2 separate regions of the Homo sapiens genome follow, and region 1 is linked to region 2. The links are contacts of gene promoters, found by promoter capture Hi-C in human tissues and cell types (Jung and others, 2019). All regions are on one chromosome and are shown on one strand. Each heading gives the region's core, a stretch centred on a gene start or on the middle of the fragment in contact. The rest is flanking DNA. Distances are from core to core; before and after follow the strand shown.

Region 1 (3,821 bases), core at 1,104-3,603, 44 kb before region 2:
TAAAAAATTAATTTTAATATTTATGGGGAACATGAAATAGTCTGATACAGGTGTACAATATGTAATAATCACATCAGGGTGAATGGTGTATCCATCACCTCAAGCACTTCTCATTTCTTTGTGTTATGAACATTTCAATTGTCGTACGTCAGTTATTTAAAATGTACAACAAATTATTGCTGACTGTAGTCACCCTGTTGTGCTGTTAACTGCTAGATCTTATTTATTGTATTGAACTGTATTTTTGTACCCATTACCCATCACCGTTCCTCCTCCTTCCCTAGTACCCTTCCCACACTCTCATAACCATCATTTTATTCTCTTTCTCCATGAGTTCAATTGTTTTAATTTTTAGCTCCCACAATTGAAAATGTGAAGTTTGTCTTTCTGTGCTTGGCTTATTTCACTTAACATAATTTTCTTCATGATATGGTTTGGCTCTGTGTCTCCACCCACATCTCATCTTGTAGCTCCCATAATTCCCACATGATGTGGGAGGGACCCAGTGGGAGACAATTTAATCATGGGGGTGGGTCTTTCCCATGCTGTTCTTGTGATAGTGAATGGGACTCATGAGATCTGATGGTTTTAAAAATGGGAGTTTCTCTGCACAAATTTTCTCTTTGCCTGCTGCCATCTAGGTAAGATGTGACTTGCTCCTCCTTGCCTTCTGCCATGATTTTGAGGTCTCTCCAGCCATGTGGAACTGTAAGTCCAAGAAACCTCTTTCTTTCGTAAATTGCCCAGTCTTCGGTATGTTTTTGTCAGCAGCATGAAAGCGGACTAATACTCTCTAGTTGCATCCATGTTGCAAATGACAGGATCTCACCTTTTTTATGATGGAATAGTACTCCACTGTGTATATGCACCCATTTTCTTTATCCATTCAACTGTTGATGGACACTGAGGTTGATTCACTCAATTCCAAATCTCGGTTATTTTAAATAGTGTTGCATGAACATGGCAGTGCAAATATCTCTTTGATATGCTGATTTCCTTTCTTTGGAGTATATATCCAGCAGTGGAATTGTTAGTGCATATGGTAGTTCTATTTTAGTTTTTTGAGGAACCTCCATATCGTTCTCCATGGAGGCTGTTCTAATTTATACTCCCACTCACAGTATACAGAGGTTACCCTTTCTCCACAACCTCACCAGCATTTGTTATTGCCTGTCTTTTGGATAAAGGTCATTTTAACTGGGGTGAGAGGAAATCTCACAGTAGTTTTGATTTGCAGTTCTCTGATGATCAAAATGTTGAGCATATTTTTATATACCTATTTACCATTTGTAGGTCTTCTTTTGAGAAATGTCTATTCAGATCTTTTGCCTATCTAAAAATGTGATTATTAGATTTTTTTCCTATTGATTTATTTAAGTGCCCTATATATTCTGGTTATTAACCCCTTGACTGATGGATAGTTTGCAAATATTTTCTCCCATTCTGTGGGTTGTCTTTTCACTTTGTTGATTGCTTCTTTTGCTAGGCAGACTGAAGAACTGCTTTTAGCATTTCTTATAGGATAGGTCTGGTGTTGATAAAAATCTTTTAGGTTTTGTTTGTCTGGGGAAGTCTTTACTTCATGTTTGAAGGGTATTTTTGTTGAATATTATATTCCAGGATAAAAGTTCTTTCCTTCAGTATTTTAAATATATCATGTCACTGTCTCTTGGCTTGTAAAGTTTCCACTGAGAAATCTGCTGCCAGACATATTGAAGCTCCTTTCTATATTATTTCTCACGAGATCTGATGGTTTTAAAAATGGGAGTTTCTCTGCACAAATTTTCTCTTTGCCTGCTGCCATCTATGTAAGATGTGACTTGCTCCTCCTTGCCTTCTGCCATGATTTTGAGGCCTCCCCAGCCATGTGGAACTGTAAGTCCAAGAAACCTCTTTCTTTTGTAAATTGCCTAATCTTGGGTATGTTTTTATCAGCAGCATGAAAACGGACTAATACTCTCTAGTTGCATCCATGCTGTTGCAAATGACAGGATCTTATCTTTTTTATGTTGGAATAGTACTCCACTGTGTTTATGCACCCATTTTCTTTATCCATTCATCTGTTGATGGACACCAAGGTTGATTCACTTGATTCCAAATCTTGGTTATTTTAAATAGTGTTGCATGAACACAGTGCAAATATCTTTTGATATGCTGATTTCCTTTCTTTGGAGTATACATCAAGCAGTGGAATTGTTAGTTATTTCTTTTCTCTTGCTGCTTTTAGGATCCTTTCTTTATCCTTGACCTTTGGGAATTTGATTACTAATGCCTTGAGGTACTCTTACTTAGATTATATCTGCTTGGTGTTCTATAACTTCCTTGTATTTGAATATGGACATCTTTCTTTAGGTTTGAGATGTTCTCTATTACTATATTTTTGAATGAACTTTCTACTTCAGTCTCTATCTCTGTCTGCCTCCTCTTTAAGGCAAGTAACTATTAGATTTGTCCCTTTGAGGTTATTTTCTAGATCCTGTAAGCATGCTTTATTCTTTTTTCTTTTGAATCCTCTATGTATTTTCAAATAGCCTGTCTTCAAGCTTACTAATCCTTTCTTCTGCTTGATCAATTCTGCTACTGAGAGATTCTGATGCATTTTTCGGTTTGCCAGTTGAATTTTTCAGATCCAGAATTTCTGCTCAATTCTTTCTAATTATTTCAATCTCTCTGTTAAAGTTGTCTGATAGGATTCTGAATTCTTTATCTGTGTTATCTTGGATTTCATTGAGTTTTCTCAAAAAACAGCTATTTTGAACTCTCTGTCTGAAAGATCACATATTTCTGTCACTCTGGGATTGATCACTGGTGCCTTATTTAGTTATGGTGAGGTTATGTTTTCCTGAATGATCTTGATGGCTGTGGATGTTAATCAATCCATAATCCACAATCTTCAATGTCTGGGCATCGAAGAGTCAGATATTTATTGTAGTCTTCACAGTCTGGGCTTGTTTGTACTCATCCTTCTTGGGGGGCTTTCCAAGTATTCAAAGAGAACTGAGTGTTGTGAACTAAGTCTTTGGTCACTGTAGCTTTATCTGTATTAGGAGGCACCCCAAGCCCAGTAATGCTGTGACTGTTGCAGACTTGTAGAGGTACCACCTTGGTGGTCTTGGGGAAGATCCGGGAGAATTCCTTGGATTAACAGGCAAGACTCCTGGTTTCTTCCCTTACTTTCCCCCAAACTCTCTCTCTCTCTATGCTGAGCTGCCTGGAGTTAGGGGAGGGGTGATGCAAGCACTCTCATGGCTACCACTGCTGGGACTGTGCTGGGTCACACCTGAAGCCAGCACAGTACTGGGTCTTGCTCAAGTCCTGTGGCAACAATTTCCTGACTTCTGCTGATGTTTATGCAAGGCCCAAGGGCTCTTTATTCACTAGGTAATAAATCCTGCCAGGACTGAGCAGTGCAGCAGATTCCCTTCTGGCTCAGGGTGGGTCTAGAAATTCCCTCCAGGAGGGAATGCCTGGAATCAGGGACCTTAGGGGTCTGCTTGTTGCTTTATTTTACTGTGGCTGAGCTGGTACCCAAGTTGCAAGACAAAGTCCTTTTTACTCTTCCCTCTCCTTTTCTCAGGCAGAAGGAATCTTTCCCCATGGCCACAACAGCTGGGAATGTGCTGTGTCACACCTGAAGCCAGCATCATGCTAGATCTTGTCCAAGACCTGTGGTGACTGCTTCCTGGCTCCAGCTGATGTTTATTCAAGGCCCAAGGGCTTTTCAGTCAGCAGGTGCTAAATTCTGCCACGACTGGAATCTTTCCTTCAGGACAATGGGTTCTCCTCTGGCCCAGAGTGGGTCTAGAAATGTCATCTGGGAA
Region 2 (3,521 bases), core at 857-3,356:
TCAGGTGCCGTCAGCTGGAGTTGAAACAGACTCCTGAGAGGCTCTTATGCCTACAGTTATTTGGGAACTAAGTCATCTTCTTCCCACTCCCATCACCAAAGGACCAGGACTGGTTGGCCAGCAACAAGGTGAACCTCCCTTCTTCGAACCTCTGCCCTCTACCTCTTAGGTATATGCTGCCCTCTGGTATTCTGCTCCTGTTTAAGGCTACTCTTGGTGCTTATTTTAACTGATTTCATCTCGATATGGAAGTTGAGTGTAGGAACAAGACTCATACCATGAGATGTTCTTGGGGGCAGTCTCAGGTCAGATAATAGAGATAATGATTAATATTTAGTGTGCACTTAATATGTGGTAGGCTCTGTGCTATGGGCCTTACATGCGTAATCTTATTAAATTCTTCCAGTGATCTACAAAGTAGGTTTGATTATTATTTCCATTTTATAGATGAGAAGACTGAGATTCAGAGAGTTAACTTGCTTAAGGTCACACAGCCAGAAAGTGGTGAATCAACAAAATTAGAACACAGGCCTGCTGAGTTCTTGCTTCCAGTCACTTCACTGCAATAGGCCCCCAGAAGCAGGGCTGGAGTTCAGAAATTCTTTCTAGTAGAGCACCTGTGTCAGGGCTCCTGACCTTCTGATCTGTCCTGAGCTTTACAGATTCTACCTTCCTCAGGTTTCTCCCCTTATCTTTTCCCTTCCACTTCCATTTCTTAATCCTTACTCCAGGCCTTCATCAATAGTCCAGGGTGACTTCTCTTCCCGAGACTTTGCTTTGAGCTCAGCACACCCTACTTGTAAACCACCAGGGCCCGCCAACATCTAGAGAACAAAATTAAAACTTTTATGGGGGTAACTGTCCCCATGATTCAATTATCTCCACCTGGTCCCTCCCATGACACGTGGGGTTTATGGGAACCACAATTCAAGATGAGGTTTGGGTGGGGACACAGCGAAGCCATATCAAATGGTGAAATACAATTCTGCATATGTAGCATCCTAAGAAGCTCTATAGCCTAGTGGCTAAGACTATAGCCTGTGGGCCTAAGCTGCCCGGGTTCAAACCCTGGCTCTGCCCCTCACTAACTGTGTGGCCTTGGATGAGTTATTGTAATCCTCAATGGTTCCGTTTCTCTAATTGTAAAATACAGAGGCTAGGTTTATTGTGAGGAATAATTGAGTTAATACATGTAAGGTACATGACACCTGGCACGGAGGAGTTTATTTTAAAAAGTCACCTATTATGAAACATCCTTCTTCCTCATTTCGAGATGTCACTTGCTATCTTGTACCTAAACTGAGCCCTTTTGGTGGAGGCAGTGAGGGTTCTTGTGTGTTCTTCGCCATCCCTGCCTGGCGTGTGCGCAGGAGCTATTTATGTTGCTGAATTCACCATCGTGGGGATCACAGGAAGAGGAAAACTTTTTCCAGTAGCTCAGGAGCTGCTTATGTCGCTGAATTCACCATGACGGGGATCATAGGAAGAGGAAAACTTTTTCCAGTAGCCTGTAGTTGCAAAAGATAATAAGCTTTCCAACCTGTGATCACCTGGAGCAAACGGAGAGGAAAGGAGATAAACGAGGAGTGTTGCGTGCGGAGTGGAGGGAGGCTCCCTTTCTCCTCCCATCACCAACTCCTCCTTCTCCTCAGGCCAGGCTTTTAATCAGGCTCCCCGCGTGCAGTCAGAGAGGGCAAAGCCAGCTCCCGTCTCAGCCTCCCGTAGGAAGATCTCCCGGCCTCACCTGAGCGCCCCGCAGCCCTGGGTACCTCTGCTCCCGCCCAGGGTCCTATGGCCCCTCCTCCCAGCACCCAACACTGGGACCCCACCTGTACCCAGGCTGGCCTCCCTCCCCCGCAGCTTCCTTTGCAGCCGCCGTCCGCGGGTCTCCAGGCGTGGCCACACCTCCCGGGGCCCCGCAAGGGTTAAGGCAGCAGAGAGGAGAGGTTTGGGCTGACGTCGCTCTGGCTGAAGGTGGTTCCCCTCAGATGAGGATGGGAGAGCCTGGCGAGCTGAAACCCGAGCTCCCGCTCAGCTGGGGCTCGGGGAGGTCCCTGTAAAACCCGCCTGCCCCCGGCCTCCCTGGGTCCCTCCTCTCCCTCCCCAGTAGACGCTCGGGCACCAGCCGCGGCAAGGATGGAGCTGGGTTGCTGGACGCAGTTGGGGCTCACTTTTCTTCAGCTCCTTCTCATCTCGTCCTTGCCAAGAGGTACTGTGAGTAGCGTCCGGGACACCCTAGGAGGACACCCTAGGAGGGAGCATTTTCCTCCTGGGGTCTGCCTGGGAGCAGGACTGGGAGTCTCAGGAGGTGGGCTGTGTGTGTTTGGGGTGAGGGGTTGAGGGGGGGTGGTGCTTTTCCAGTGATAATTTTAGGGACTTGGCTGGTGGTGCTGGAGCTCCTGTGGCCCTCCCTGAGACTGTGACGTGGTTTTGTCATCCCAAATCGTGGGGCTGTACTGTCTCAGGAAAGCGGACCAGCTCCTATTTTATTTGCTCTTTTTATCATTTTAAAAGTACCAAATTGCCTTAGGGAATCAATTCTGAGTTACCCGCTCTGACTTGCAAAAGCGAAGTTTCTCTTGGAAAGGGCTCCCTCAGAGGTGAGCAAGAAAGAAAGAAGAGAGGGAAAGAAAGAAAGGAATAAAGAGCAGGGCTTGCTTGGTGTTCTTCTGGTGAATCTTGCTTCACGAACTCCTACAGCCATACCCCTTCGGAGTAGATCCAAGCACAGGAGATTGACTCACTCAGCATATATAGACACACTTCCTTTCTGATGAGAGTGAGAAAGAAGAAAAAGCCAAGGTTAAAAGTGCAGATTGTTTCTGGGATGCATAGGGTTTGTTTTGAAAGAGCTCTGGCTTCTTTGGTTTTCATATATCATTTTCTAAGCCACAATCCCCAGGTCAAATGGGCTTCTGGGGACAAATGAGGCTGGGACATGATACGGAGATCCAGCTAAGGGCAGAAGCGAGGACATGGCAGATCCTGCTTGCTGGCAGGCGGGGAAGTGGGAACGTCATAGGAACATCTGTCCTTCTATGGCCCAGGGGGTAAAGTGAGACCTCATGAGATGAGGGCAGGCCGAGATGTACAGAAATGACCAAACGGGGCAGCTCTGAATAGGGGCAGGTTATGTACGAGCCTTCGCTGCTTCCCTTCTGTGCTGGTTACCTGTCACCTGAACTCTATCTGAGAGCTGGGTGCTCTGCCGCTGCAAGTAGCTGGCAAGTGCCTGAGAATGAAACAGGCCAGGTCGGGTGGGGAGGATACTAAATGCAATAACCTGTGTAGAAGGGAAACTTAGCCATAGGCACATCCCTTCATGATCAACGAAAAGCTGAGATACACAAACCCCCCTGCCCTTCATTTTGGTCAATACTTTCCATCTACCTAGAGCCTGCCTGCCCAGGTAGGATCTTCCTTAATGATTTACAATAAAGATGGTGAGTGTTTCATTTGAATTTTGCCTCCATGGTGTCTGGAGCAGCCCAAAGACAATAATAAAGGAAGAAGGAGCCCTT

Evidence for each region. The method cuts DNA at HindIII sites, captures the fragments that hold promoters and counts their contacts. A contact is called where the count stands out against the background at its distance.
Region 1: a fragment that was not itself captured here is called in contact with the fragment with the promoter of PAMR1 in region 2 in 1 of the 25 tissues and cell types used here (IMR-90 fibroblasts).

The regions. Positions count from the first base shown.
Region 1 is chr11:35,567,771-35,571,591 of GRCh38, reverse strand. No RefSeq gene overlaps it. Among named protein-coding and RNA genes, the nearest start is that of PAMR1, 44 kb to the right of the region's middle. The HindIII fragment of the contact is 8,001 bases long and covers 1-3,821 here.
Region 2 is chr11:35,524,201-35,527,721 of GRCh38, reverse strand. PAMR1 (peptidase domain containing associated with muscle regeneration 1) reads left to right here and starts at 2,106. Exons shown (of 11, transcript NM_001001991.3): 1 at 2,106-2,209. The coding sequence starts at 2,137. The HindIII fragment of the contact is 6,683 bases long and covers 1-2,700 here.